2 separate regions of the Homo sapiens genome follow, and region 1 is linked to region 2. The links are contacts of gene promoters, found by promoter capture Hi-C in blood cells and fetal thymus (Javierre and others, 2016). All regions are on one chromosome and are shown on one strand. Each heading gives the region's core, a stretch centred on a gene start or on the middle of the fragment in contact. The rest is flanking DNA. Distances are from core to core; before and after follow the strand shown. Region 1 holds the start of ENTPD1-AS1 (ENTPD1 antisense RNA 1). Region 2 holds the start of SORBS1 (sorbin and SH3 domain containing 1).

Region 1 (7,287 bases), core at 2,010-4,509, 530 kb after region 2:
TGGCTGATGCCTGTAATCCTAGAACTTTGGAAGCTGAGGCAGGCAGATGGCTTGAGCCCAGAAGTTCAAGACCAGCCTGGGAAATATGGTAAGACCCTGTCTCTACAAAAAAATTCAAAAATTAACTGGTGCGGTGGTGTGTGCCTGTAGTCCTAGCTACTTGGGAGGCTGAGGCGGGAGGATCACTTGAGCCTTGGAGGCAGAGGTTGCAGTGAGCCAAGATAGCGTCACTGCACTCCAGCATGAGCAACAGAGTGAGATTGTCTCAAACAAAGAAAAAAGAAATGAAGACTTGTTTACTTCATTGAGTAAATGATTACTGAACACTCACTATGTGCCAGGCATGTTCTCAATATGGGGGATTCACAGGTGATAAAGACAAACATAGTTTCTACTTTTCCATTATCATGAAGCCCAAATTTTTTAAAAATTTATTTTGCAGATGTCATCAAACGAAGTCTATGTGTTATCTTGAATCATTTACATTCAAAAATACTTAATCCTGCAATAAAATGTTAAAAAGTCACAGATGTTACAGAGTCAGGGTTGAAAAAGAGCTCATTAGTTCCAAGATGCACATTATTTTACATTTTGACATCTCTGAAATCAGTCACATCTTACAATGTAATCAGACTAGACGGCAATGGAGATGGAGTTGGCACTGCCGTGCATCAAAACTTCAAAACTCAGAATGAGCACTAGGGGCTTGGAAGAAAATCCCAGGTTTGATGGTAAAGGCACCATTTTAAGGAATTTTTTTTTTTTTTTTTGTGGTAGAGATGGGATATCGCTATGCTGACTGACCAGGCTGGTCTCAAACTCCTGGCCTCAAGCAATCCTCCCATCTGGGCCTCCCAAAGTGGTGGGATTACAGGCGTGAAGCACCACACCCAGCCTTAAGGATTTCTGATGATTCAAGATTCAATAAAACATAATAGTTCAAAGTTTTCATTTATTATAGGTGAGGAAAATGAAATTCAGAGTGGTCACACAACTTGCCCTAGTTTACAAAGCTGGACAGGTAGAATAGAGTCCAGGTCTGTTTTCTACAGTCATTCACTCTTCTACCAGTGTTCAGTTATATGGAGGAAAAGGGTGTCATACAAAACAAGTAGGTAAGAAGATGGCTCTAAGTTACAAAGACGGATTTGTAACTTAATCCGTCCTTGCCTCAGTTTCTCCATCTATTAAAACAGGGATTTAACAAACCTAACTCACAGTACTGCTGTAAGCATTAAATAAAATATGTCTAGCAATTATCACAAAGATTGGCATATGGTAAATACTCCATAAATGTCAACTACTTGAGATCAAACTTTACATTTATTATACACTAAGTCAAGCCCACATATAGTTGTCTAAAGCGCTTGAAAACTAAATAAACTGGTCAAGTGTTTGAAGTGATAAATACAATGAAAATTTCCACCTTAACAATGTTTTGTCCAGGTACTATGCCAAGAACCCAATAGACCTACCTGCAAGAAACCATACAAAAAGCAAGATTCCAGGCTGGCATGACGATCAAATTATGTACTTCAATGCGTGTGAATGCATTTATAAGCACAGTCTCAATACATAAATAAGGAACAAAATATTTAAAATGTATAAACAGATCATTTCTCTTTGCTTTCTTTAAAATACTATATCAGAATCACCTGAGGAACTTGATAACAATTTTTTTAAAAACTATTATAACTACGTATATTAAGCCTTGTTAAAACCACAAGTTTTAGAGGTTTAAGCCTTACTAGGTCAGCTCTTCTGATTTTGAGAGTTTAAGTGAAAATTTAAATTATAACACAGTATGTGGAGTAAACCTGCTTCAAATATTAGTTTCTACATTATTGTTTCTATAAAAATAGTAATCTTCTGTATTTTAATATCAACTCATCACATATTAAATATTTCAGTCAAATCAAAATTTCATTTGAAATCTTCAATCTAAAAAATACACAGTTAAGCGCTTAAAAAGTAATTTTAACCACTAGGAAATGTTAATGATTAACTCACATTTGTTTCTGTTTCACTCCATGACAAAGTCTATAGGACACCCTGCAGAGAGGAAAACTCACATTAATATACCCATAATTTTACTTTCAGAAGCTTCTGGTAATCAAAGACTTATTATGAGGTGTCTTCATGTTACCACTGCGCAGTAGCAAACTTAAAATATTCTAAAGATTAATCTATTTTCTCATTTTTTTAATGCTTTTGTTAAAATCTCAACAAGTACTAACATGTTATCTAAATTTAAACCTTAAAACAATAACACGACCCAATATGTGAACTCTGCCTATTAATTCTAAAACTTTTAATAATAGTTTGCTTATGTTTGAGACTTAAAACAATAACATACTGCACTACACCCATCTTAGATATTTTCTAGGATCAAAGTCTATCTGGAGCAGGGCAAGCTGTGGTTGAGGGTGGTTGGGTCAGCAGGTAAGAGCCTTATGACCAGCTCTAAACGCCTCCACGGTGAGGAGCACCTCGAGCTAACAGACCAAGCACCAAAGGGTGGAACAGCTCAAGGTTGCATTTAGGAGACTCCAGCCTCGGCCGCCCGTGACTCCTCGACGAGCCCCACCTCTCTCGGTTCCAGCATCCGGCCCGCCCCTTCCTCCCAGGCTACCACAGTATCGCCCGCCGAGCTCCCGGGCTGCGGGAAATGACGGAAACAAAAACTTGGTACACAAAGAAGGGCTAGGTCAGAAGTGAGGTCCCACCCTGGCAAGAAGGGCGACTTTTCTAGAAAAACTTAGCGGCAAGTTAACGGGAAGCGCGGCGACACAGTTCCTACGATTGTGGGGGGCACTCTGCCGCCAGGCAGTCTCATCCTTTGTCCTTTGAGAGGCCTCCTTGAAGCCGAAGGCTCTTAAGTGTCCCTGGGCAACCCTTGACTCGATCTCCATTACGGGCCCTCACTGACAGCAGCCATGACAGTTGCTTCCGGATATATTGAATCGCCGCGGCCAGAGTCTCCCGGAAGTGACGCAACGCGGAGGGATCCGCGTTCGGCAGTGGGAGACCGAAGCGAAGTGGTTCCCGGAAGCGGCTGCAGCTGGGCTGCTGGTGGCGGGGCGGGGGTAGAGTGGGGAGAGAGGTTGTGGGTCTTACAACCAACCAACCCCAACACGTTTTACGTGTTAGGCAGGCATTGTGCTGAACACCTCATTGGCAAGCCATTTAATCCCTTCCTTACAATCCCAGCAGTCAGAAATGTATCACTTACATTTTATATATGGGGAAACTAAGGTTAAGAGAGGGCAAGTAAATTTGTCCGAGATCGTATAGCTGGTACTTGGTGAACGTGGTCTAACCCAGACACCGCGTTCTCCCTGGTGACTCCATTTTGTAAAACCAGAGCTGTTGGCGCATGGCATCCTCGTAAGCCCCTTTAAGTTAGGCACTCTGTTGCCCAGAGAGGGGCCAACTTGTAGCCAGTATGCTCTTTATGGTGAACACAAGGCCCACGTGTGTGCCTGGGTCCCCTTGGCTGAACCTCGGATTTCAATTGGTTTCTGACACCTTGCCTTTGCAGCATTCTCCGTCTGCAGCGCTGGTTACCTGAGGAAACTGTCAATGATTGCTAGGCTCTGGGGAACATTTTAGCTCCGTTTAGGCCCTTTTAAATCCAGGACTAAGACAGTTGGAGGCCTCTCACCATCACCAGATACTCTAGCTGGCCTTAACAGAGGGCCAAGGACCATAATCTTGGACTTTCCACCAGACCAAGTGTTTGTTTGGCTTCTGTTTCTTTAGAATATGACTGAAAACCAATCTGTAGTTTGTTTAGTCTTCTTTCTGCATTGACCAGTACTCACATAATAAAGTGGGACTAGCCACTAAGGCTATGTTTTTGTAAAAACAAATTATGCCTAGAAAAACACAAGAAATACATCAAAATTAACAGTGATAGTGTTTGAATAGAGAGTGATTTTATTTTTTTCTCTCTGCTTTCTCTTTTGCATATCTGCTATAAAACCCTTTTAAAATAGAAAAATAAGCAAACTGGCTATGGTAAAAACATTTTTAATTGCCTGCTGTTATAATGACGGCAAAGGCATGTTGTCACATTTTGATAAATGACCGTCCTTGATACAAATCACGTAGAGAAATCCTGTTTGACTAGAAAAGCATTGGATTTTTGTGAGTCAGTGTATTCTCAAAATTTTCGATATTTTGTTTTGGTTCTATAATCCTCACAGGAAAAGTAAAAAAGCAAATTGATGTTTTTCACACACTTTCGTATGAGAGTATGCTACCACCAAAAGTCTTCCCTAAAACAAAGTTGCAGGGGTCAAGTCATGTGGGGCGTTTGGATACTTGAAATGGTGGAGAACAAATATAAAAAGCTATTTTTATTCTGGCTGCTTTGGGGTACAGTTTTAAGCAATTTATTTCAGACTGCCAAAGAAAGCTTCATTCTTTATTCACATACTCTACTTCCCACTATTGCTTATTAGTGACTTCTAAAGCAGTGACAAAACAAGTAAAAGAAGATAGAAAGGAAAAATGAGAAGGGATCACGGGAAGAAGAAAATGTGGAGGAACAAAGACAGATGGTGATATTGGGGTTACTTTGGAACTCCAGGGTAGCATGTAACAGCCTTCTTATCCAAGTCCTGGCACAGGCCTGGTTGCCTACTAAAAGGTAAATTAGCATCTATGATGTTCCTGCTCACATACTCAGCACCCACAGTGATAAGTCTTACTAAAAATTCATCTTGATGCGCATTCAAATTAGACATATATTTTAACAAAAATGGAGGGGTTGAACAACAAGAAATGTAAAGTAAAATCCCATCATTTTTCCTGTTTTTTTATCTTACCATGTCATTCATTCATCCTGTGGTTAGTAGTATAACTATAAACTGGAAGTTTTGCCTGCAGCATTATAAAGCAACAACTATGAAACGCCAAAGTGAGGTGCTGACAAGATGCATGTTTTCCAAAGAAATGTCTTTACATTAGTCTGGCTCTGATGAGAAGTTGTTATGATGGGATTAAATGTGCAACAATTTTATTAGAGGAAACACCTGTGAGAGAGAATGGGCGGGAGCCAAGCAAGACTGGGAGAGGCTGCAAGTCTGAAATTGAGTAAAGCAGAGAGAGAGGGAAGGGTGGTGGAAGTTTCCTGGACTGCCAAACAGTCTAAGCAAGATTTAGAAAGGCTATTGGAAATCCTCAAGCCAAAATCACCTGTCAGAGGAGTCCTTCTTTCAGGAGCCAGCCTGCCTTATTATCTGTGCTGCTCTCAGTCACCGGCTGGAGCAGCCCATGGGTGAAAATGTGGCCAGGGAATTCAGAGTGCAGCAAGCATCTAGAGCCCTTGATCAGTTTTGCTCCCTGTATTGGCAGCCACAGTCCAAGAACTGGTTTTGCCGCTATTGGAACCTTTCACCAGTTTCATGGGTTAAAAGAAGATGTTGAAAGAGATGAGTTTATGAGGAGAAGTTTTGGGGAGAGCCATTGTTATATGCTTCCCCAGTCACCTTCAAGTCTAGTGAAGGGGGCTTCAATAGCAATACTCAGAGAACTTGACATGCATTTCCTGGGTTTTGAGAGGTACAGTAGTATCGTGACTCACATCTGGGAAATCCCAGGGGTAGGAGAGATGGGCCAGTGAGAATTTTGGCATAGGAGTGAAGGAAAGTTGCTATGTTGGGATCTGTAGTCACTGCCGTAGTTTGTCAAGGCAAATGATGCCTGAGTGTTTCTCGTGCAGCAGATGTGGGCCACGTGAAAAAAAGAGAAAGTTGGCCTGAGACCTTTTTGACTCTTGTGTATGGAGAGAATCTGTATGGTATGGATTGTTAGAGAAGCCATAGCTGTAGATGGAGCAATAGCTGGAGGAACAGAATGTATTGCCTATCTAGAGTGACCAACTTGTCCAGTGCCCTTGGACTTTCCCTGCTTTAGTACCAAAAGTCCCAAGTCCCAGGAATCCATGTTTGATCATTCTGTGTGTCATAGGAGTTGCAGCATCCAACGAACCTAAAAATCACCCGTGAGAGTGAGCCAAGTTTAAGTTTCAAGCAGGTCTAGAGTGTAAAACCAGCTTATGACCATGCCGGGATTAAAGTAGATTTTAGCAGAGGACAATTTGAAAATGACGCTGAAACAAAAATTTCTACACACTCTTTTTTTGGAGTGTGTATTAGTCTGTTGACACAGCCAAAATACCATAGACTGAGTGGCTTACACACAGAGATTTATTTTCTCACTGTCCTGGAAGCTCAAAGTTCAAAACCAGGGTTTTGACCAATTTGCTTTCTGGTGAGGGGCATTCTTCCTGGGTTGCAGCTGGCTGCCTTCTCACAATATCCTCATATGGCCTTTCCTCGGTACATACTCGAGATGAAGAGGCGTGGAAGAGAAAGAGAGAGAACTTTCTGGTGTATCTTCTTATAAGACACTAATTCTGTCAGATCAGGGACCCACCCTTATGACCTCATTTCATCTTAATTACTTCCTTAGAGGCCCCATCTCCAGATATAGCCACAGCGGGGGTTAGGGCTTTACCATATGAATTTGACGGGCACACAAACGTTCAATCCATCACAGAGTGTGACTCTGCAACACAGAGATACCTTTTTTGGGTAGGGGCGGTCATGAGAACATTAGGTCTGTGTTTATGTCTCACACTCTTAAGGAGAAGTTATGCTATGGTGACTTTGCAGCCCTGTATCTTTATGAACAAATGTAAATATGATGTCTATAGATCGTTTGTGACACTTTTAGAGCTCTTTAGACATTACTTTAATCTTGTCAAGGAAAGTTGGATACCCAGAGGACCCTGTTATTTTTGTGTTCTGCAGAGCAGAGGATGTCACACGCTAATGTTCACACTACTGAACTCATGAGGAAACCCACAACAGACTCTGTGTACATAGTGATCAGGACTTGGGCTAAGCCCTGGGGCTTGTACTTAGCTACAGGGACTTAGTAAACAGTGGAACTATTCTGATAAGGGATATGTTACTGCTTCTATTTATGAAATTTGATTTTTTTTAAAGTTAACACAGGATTGGCTAATCAGAGAATATATCCTCTTACATCTTTTTTACAAATATGAACTCAAGTAGTTGTAAGACTCCAGCTTAAAAGGCCAGTATATTAAGAATGAATTGCTGTTAAACAAAACAAAACAAAAAAAAGACAGACATAGATTTGAGCTTCCTTTAGCATCCACTTGATCCTTCCAGGAGGTATAGCTGTTTTTTTAATTCCTTAAGGGGTATAATAGTTGGAATTATGTTCAGCTATGAGGAAGTAATAGAAATT
Region 2 (6,681 bases), core at 3,707-6,206:
GCTGGAGTGCAGTGGTACAATCTCGGCTCACTGCAACCTCCACCTCCCAGGCTCAAGCAATTCTTTCTGCCTCAGCCTCCTGAGTAGCTGGGATTACAGGCACCCATCACCACACCCAGCTAATTTTTGTCTTTTTTTTTTTTTTTTTTTTTTGAGACGGAGTCTTGCTATGTCGCCCAGGCTGGGGTGCAGTGGCGCGATCTTGGCTCACTGCAAGCTCCGCCTCCCAGGTTCATGCCATTCTCCTGCCTCAGCTTCCCGAGTAGCTGGGACTACAGGTGCCTGCCACCACACCCGGCTAAATTTTTGTATTTTTAGTAGAGACGGGGTTTCACCATGTTGACCAGGCTGGTCTTGAACTCCTGACGTCAGGTGATCCACCTGCTTCAGCCTCCCAAAGTGCTCGGATAACAGGCATGAGCTACCTTGCCTGGCCCTCGACTGATTTGAAATGAAGAACAGAGAACATGAAATTTTAATGGCAATAGATTAAAAGAAACTACAAAGATATATTGTTGATAATAAAGAAAGAATGAGGGAGGAGGGCAAGGAGAAAGAGGTAAGAAAAAGAAATGGATAGTGGAGGGAGATGTAGCAAAAGAAGAATGGGAGACAGCAAGATTCAGGGACGGGTCCACATGCCTAACCGCACACAAAAAGGGGGAGCCACCAAAGGACCCACAGAGACACTTTCTAGGGCTTGAAGAGTTAGCCAAAGTCAGTTACATTGTTCATGGCCAGCTGTTGGCTGTAGCTCCAGACCTTGAACTATTATCACCTTTTATCCTTGCCTTTGAATGGTTAGTGCTCTGGTCAACCACTGTTCACAGCTCTTTAATTGCTCATTGAAACATTCTGAGGCTTAGCTTAGGTCACAAGCCAGAAGCTCCCCCAAATGAGCTACAATTCAGTAAATCATTCATCTCCAAGTATCTCCTCTGAAAAGGGAGTATTCGAAACACTATCTCATAAAACATTCAAAGCACCGATGAAAATCCAAGGAGAAAATGCTGCTTGCACTGAAACGAAATCCATGGAAAAGTGTTCTGAGTTTTGCATTTACAAAAAAACCGGGACTTCAGCAGAACTGAGTCCCACCTCAGCATCAGCCAGCATCACCACCCGCACACCTGACTTCCCACATGTCCACATTCTGCATGCTCCCGTGGATCTAAAGGCCTCAGTTGGTCCTGAAACTAAGCAGCCTCCATGACACTTTGCAATCTGAGGGTCAACAGGAGCAATCCCAAGGAGATTCCAAGACAGTCTCAGGCTGAGGTTGAACTCTCAGTCCACCCCCCCACCCCCCATCCTAGGCTACCAAACCTCCCCTCACTTCACCCCAAGGGCTGCAGAAGAGCTCAGCTGTTTCAGAGACAATAGAGCCTCCCCCTTTCAAGCTCCATCCTTTTCTCCTCCAAGCTTGGTTTCTGTGTTTTTCCCTTCCCCACATAATCTGTCCCCAGCCTCCTACTTTCTCGTCTGTTTCTCCAATCTCTCTCTTCTTGTGCTCCTATTTCCTCCTCATGTTTCGCTATTCCATCTTAGAATCATTTCTCTCAGAGGAAGAGGGGGCTTAACAGATACATATAGGCCGGGCACCGTGGCTCAAGCCTATAACCCCAGCATGCTGGAAGGCCAATGCAGGCGGATCGCTTGAGTCCAGGAGTTTGAGACCAGCCTGGGCAACACCGCAAAACTCTGTCTCTACAAAAAGTACAAAAATTAGCTGGGTGTGGTAGTGCGTGCCTGTGGTCCCAGCTACTCGGGAGGCTGAGGTAGGAGGACTGCCTGGGCCCAGGAGGTCGAGGCTGCAGTGAGCCATGATTGTGCCACTGCACTCCAGCCTGGGTGACAGGTGAGACCCTGTCTCAAAACAACCACCACCACCAAAAAACAAAAAAACCCAGATACATCTGGAAACAAGATCTACAATCTATCCCCCCGAGTTCCCACCCCAGCTCCACATCTTGCTAGCTGTGCAACCTTGGAAAAATGGCCAAACCTCCCAACCCCTCAAATTCCTCAGTTTGGCGGGGAAGGGGGAGGAACATGGCAATCACAGAGGTCTTTTATAACTCTCATCTTCTAGATAGGTAAACGTTCACCTGTGTAACCATGAATAAACCAGCAAGTTAAACATCCACAGGGAAAGAGAACAAATTACAGAAACTCCCTTTCCTCAGCAATCTATCATCCCACCCTCATCTCCCACAACCACTCACTCTGGGGTCTGTGCCTCTCACTCTGGACCGTTCTAGCTCTGAATTGTTTACATACTTACAGTAAAACCTCACAAATCACACTAATCAAGGAAAAGGTAGATGTGAATCCAACAGAAGCCTGCATCCTAGAATGCTTCTTCTATGCCATTGTGCAATACTTTGAATTTATTATCAATTTAGCAAACAGGAAAGAACCTGAAAATGCCATCACAAACTGTGACTCTAAGAACAGTGGAGTTGTCAGGAACCCTGGAAGACCTTCTGCCCTATCATCCTCCACTTCACCAGCAAGGACACAGGCCCAGAGAGCAGAAGCCACTAGCCCAAAGCCCAAAGATTGGTGGCCAGGACCAAAGCTAGCTGTCCTGCCTCTGGTCCAGAGCTTCTCCACCAAAGCTTTTTGAGACCATCCATGCCTTTCTCCTAGAGACAGGTCAAATCCTAAATTACCATAGAGTGCCCTCTACAGCAAATCTATCTCCACATCCAGGGAAGGGTCTGGAGATAAGTTAGGATGACCTGATCATTATCAATGCTGCACAATAAAAACTTTCTTTCCTGGCCCTGCCCTTTCATTGTTTACAAAGAAAACCCTAGACTCTGCTATCTGTATTGAACTCTTATTTTAGAGAAGGGGAAAGAGAGGAACAGCTGAACAGTGCTTTGTTCTGCCAGGAAGAATTTGCTCATCCTTTCCCATAACTCCTACCCACTCCCCAATATGCCCAATCTCTTCCGAAAAGTATACAGAAACTCTCCAACTACAACAAATGAAAGCAGGTAGGAGAAGGAAAAGGCCAACAAGGCGGGTATCGTCCACAAGATGACAATACCCTCCCAACTCTTTACCCCACAGGGTAGACAGCAGTTCATTTCAGTTGCTAATTCCCTGCAGGGAAGTCGCCAAAGGAGTGGTCTCAGGGCCCTCCAGCTGAGAAATGTGCTCTCTGCAACCCCTGGAGAACTAACCCTTTCCTAACCATCTGCTCCAACAGTGCCTTGGGCAAAGGTGCCAACAGACCAACCCTTCCCTTCTTTCCCCTCAGGCCAAGAAAGAGACATCAGAGCTTGGTTGGCAAGGGGCTATTTAAGGCAGCATCCAGAGGGCGGGGCAGAAAACTGCTGGAGGCATCCTCCTCCTCCACCCCTCCCCCTCACAGCCCAAACACACGCCCCTCACTCTGTAGACAGCCATCTGCCTCATCGGTGTCTGAAGGCTGTAGATATGTCCATCATCTGTCTTCTGTCATTGATGCTGCTGACCCCTCTGTGTCCACCCCACTTTTAATCCAACCCTCCTCTCTTCGATCACCACCAAGATACCTTTCCAACCAAAACCACAGAATTGAATCTAAGCAGAGGAGCTCAAAACACAAGGAGAGTGAAGACAGCCAATCCATCCCCCGCCTCCACTTAAGAGGAAAAAAGGGCGCGGGGGGCTGGGCGGGGGGGGGGGTGTTGAGGGGAGAGATGGAGTCAGAGGCCTGACACGCCAGATAGGTTCCATGATGTCTCTAGATGAACCTCCCTCCTATTGACGATGAAACCAATTCCAGCAATTTCAGCAGGTCGGCCCTGTGACAACAGGGGCATCCCAACGCTCAGTGTTTAAAACAAAAATCCAAAGGCTCGCCCAGAACATGCTGGGAAAAACCGAGGACTGAACAAAACGAGCCATGCTCAGTGGGATCCCTTCTGCTTTTACGTAGCAATGTAATAGCGTAATAAATTCTTGTCTGCCTGGAGAAAGCATGCACTGGTGAATTTCAAAGCCATCTTACGACAGCGGATGCATGGGGATGCAGAATTCGACAGCACATTCCCCCATGAAGGAAACATAATGACTTCAAGCCTCTTTCCCCTCTATCTTGAATGGCGCTACCACGTATCAAGGAAGCCACATCGGAAAGCAGCGAGGTGGTAGCAGGGGATGCCCGGGGAATTCGGAGAAAGGAGTTGCTTGCTGTCCATGTCGGTGATGAGCTGCCTAGCAAGATGCTGTCAGCCACTCGGGGAGAAGAAGGGGCACGGGCGGCACGGGCAGGCGCCGTGTCCCCGGCGCATACTAGTCCCCGTTCATTCAGGCGGGTCCGGCCAACCGCGTCGTCCTTGCGCCCCTCCCGCCGCCCTCTCCAGGGGATGCTGATGAATGAACACACCTGAGATGCCTCCATCCCGCCGCTCGCTCCCTCCGCCTTCCTCTGGCTGCTGCAGAGGTGCCCCTCCTCGGTAGTTTCACTTTACAGCACAAACCCATTCGGGCTTTGATGTCTCCTCCACCCACCCAAATTGCAGCCACCCTGAGACGGGCGGACATTCTCTCCTAGCAGAGGCCATGATCGTACTACCCCACACCCACCAAAAAAGGAAATTTAAAAACCCCCAACCCTGGAAGCCCCCAGATCCTCCGCACCCTGGGGAACTTTCCTTGAAAGACTGGGGATTCGCCGAGCAGGCAGGATGGACGGTTCGGCCGCGAGGGACCACCGCTTTCCCTGTGCCCATGGGGGGATGCTCTGGGGGAGGGGGTCCCCCAAGTCCCTCCAACAGCTGGCCCTTTAAATGCGCCTCCTCCGAGCGCGGAACAAAGGCGCCGCCCGCGGGGGCCGAGCCGCGCACACCCCCGGCGCTGCCGCCGCCGAGCGGGCAAGCGCGGCCGGGCGGGCGAGCGCGGGCTTACCTTGCTGGTCGCCGGGCGGGCGGGCTGCGCGCGTCCGCCCCACTCGCACTACACGCTGCAGCTGGCCCCGCTCTGTTTTTCTGGGACTCAGCGCTGACTTCACCGACACTCCGCGGACAACCAATGGGCTGCGGTGCCCGCCCCCTCATTAGCATGCCTCTGGAACCGTCCACTCTGGCAGCGCCCGGCCAGCGGGCGGTGCCGGGGGCGGGGCCGGGCCCAGCCGTGACAGGAAGGGGCGTGTGCGCGGATGGGAGGCGAAGAAGTGTCCGGCGCCCGGCTCCTGGCATTGTGAGCCCGCCGGCCTCCGCCGGTAACGGGCGCGCGGGCCTAGTAACCCTTTCCGTCCTGGCCGGGCCGGACGCTGGCCTGGCGCGCCTTCTGGTCCTTCGGAAGGGTCGCCCACGGGGAGCTTGGAAGGAACCTTAGACGTAAAATAACAGTGATAAGTTATTTAACTCCTGGGCCTCAGTTTACCCATCTGTAAAATGGCATAATAGTCCGACTTCGTAAAATCTAGTGAAGATTAACATAGTTAACATAGGTGATGCATTTTGATCAGTTCCTGGCCGTCGTGCTACATAAACGTTTGCTGTTGTCATTCGTGTGCTCTGTACCAGCCAGTGTGCTTAATGCTTCCCGGATATTTCCTCATTTGATCCTCTTAGCCTGATAAGAGAGGAACGATTACTAATCCATATTTTTCTAGTGAGAAAACTGAAAATAATTACTATTTTTATGCAGGAAAACTGAGGTGTAGTTTAAGTGGCTTGTCCGAGGTCACACAGCAAGTGGTGCAACCAGGATTTGAACCCAGGCTCTGAGATTTCACTCATGCAACACACATATATTTAGAGGCTCTGTGGCAGTGCTGGACCCCAGTGTTAACTGCAGAGAACAAGACAGGCAAGGCCTTTTCCCTTAGGAAGCTTCCATTTTAGTGGAGACAAGTAAATAAATAAGATCCTCTACAATGTGAAAAGTAGAGTGCATACAATGCAACAAGGTCATTGCAAGTGGGGGGAAGGCACCGTGTTAGATGGGGTTCAGAGCTAACCACTGTGCTATGCCATTCTCCTGACCTCCTCTAGTCCCCCTCAGAGTTACAGAAAAGGAAACAGAGACAGGGATCAGAGTGGGGAATCTGCTGGCCCAAGGTCGCAGAGCCAGCAAGTACTGGTCTGGAACTTGCTCCCTCCATGCCCAGCTTCCCACATCCCTGAAGATAAGACACTCGCCCTTTGGGCTGAGCACAACTGATTTTTGTCAGCTGCCCTTGCAAGCATCTTCAGCCAGAGCACATTCTCAGTGAACAGGCTGTGGGTGGCAGGGTAAAGACTGGCCTTGATAACTGCACAGACTGATCGGAAACTCATCAGCAAAGATTCTTAGATGTCAGGGAACGGTGACAAGTCTTTGGTGACCACCTGGTGTCCTCTGCTGTGTATTAAAAAAAAAAAGAAGAGTCCTAGCCATCTGGAAGCTTACTCTATAAATGAGAAAACACTGGGGAACTACTCAACCTAGGGAGCCCCCAGCCCACGGCCTTCCCCTATCTGCACCTCATCCTGCAGCTTTTCAAAGAACACTTCCCCGGCTCTCCTATTTATTTACTCCACAATCTGTGTAAGACAGCTCTCTCTGGGCTATAAAGTAATAAAACAGCTAGTATTTATTGAGCACGTCTAGGCTGCTATGCACCGTACTATACTTGTGCTAAGAGCTTTACATGCGTTAACTCACATCCACCACACGACCCCAGGTGGGAATAGTGTC

Evidence for each region. Contacts are between HindIII fragments. The CHiCAGO score rates a contact against its expected background, and 5 or more counts as called.
Region 1: a fragment that was not itself captured here is called in contact with the fragment with the promoter of SORBS1 in region 2 in 1 of 17 cell types (total CD8 T cells); the score reaches 5.1 in total CD8 T cells.

Annotation. Positions count from the first base shown.
Region 1 is chr10:96,087,256-96,094,542 of GRCh38, forward strand. ENTPD1-AS1 (ENTPD1 antisense RNA 1) reads right to left here and starts at 2,980. Exons shown (of 6, transcript NR_038444.1): 1 at 2,727-2,980; 2 at 2,011-2,052. RefSeq lists enhancers at 2,700-3,069, 3,080-3,129. The HindIII fragment of the contact is 2,317 bases long and covers 2,102-4,418 here.
Region 2 is chr10:95,556,415-95,563,095 of GRCh38, forward strand. It overlaps SORBS1 (sorbin and SH3 domain containing 1), which reads right to left and starts at 4,957. Exons shown (of 33, transcript NM_001034954.3): 1 at 4,906-4,957. RefSeq lists an enhancer at 4,540-5,302 and silencers at 4,787-4,896, 4,937-5,306. The HindIII fragment of the contact is 3,213 bases long and covers 2,620-5,832 here.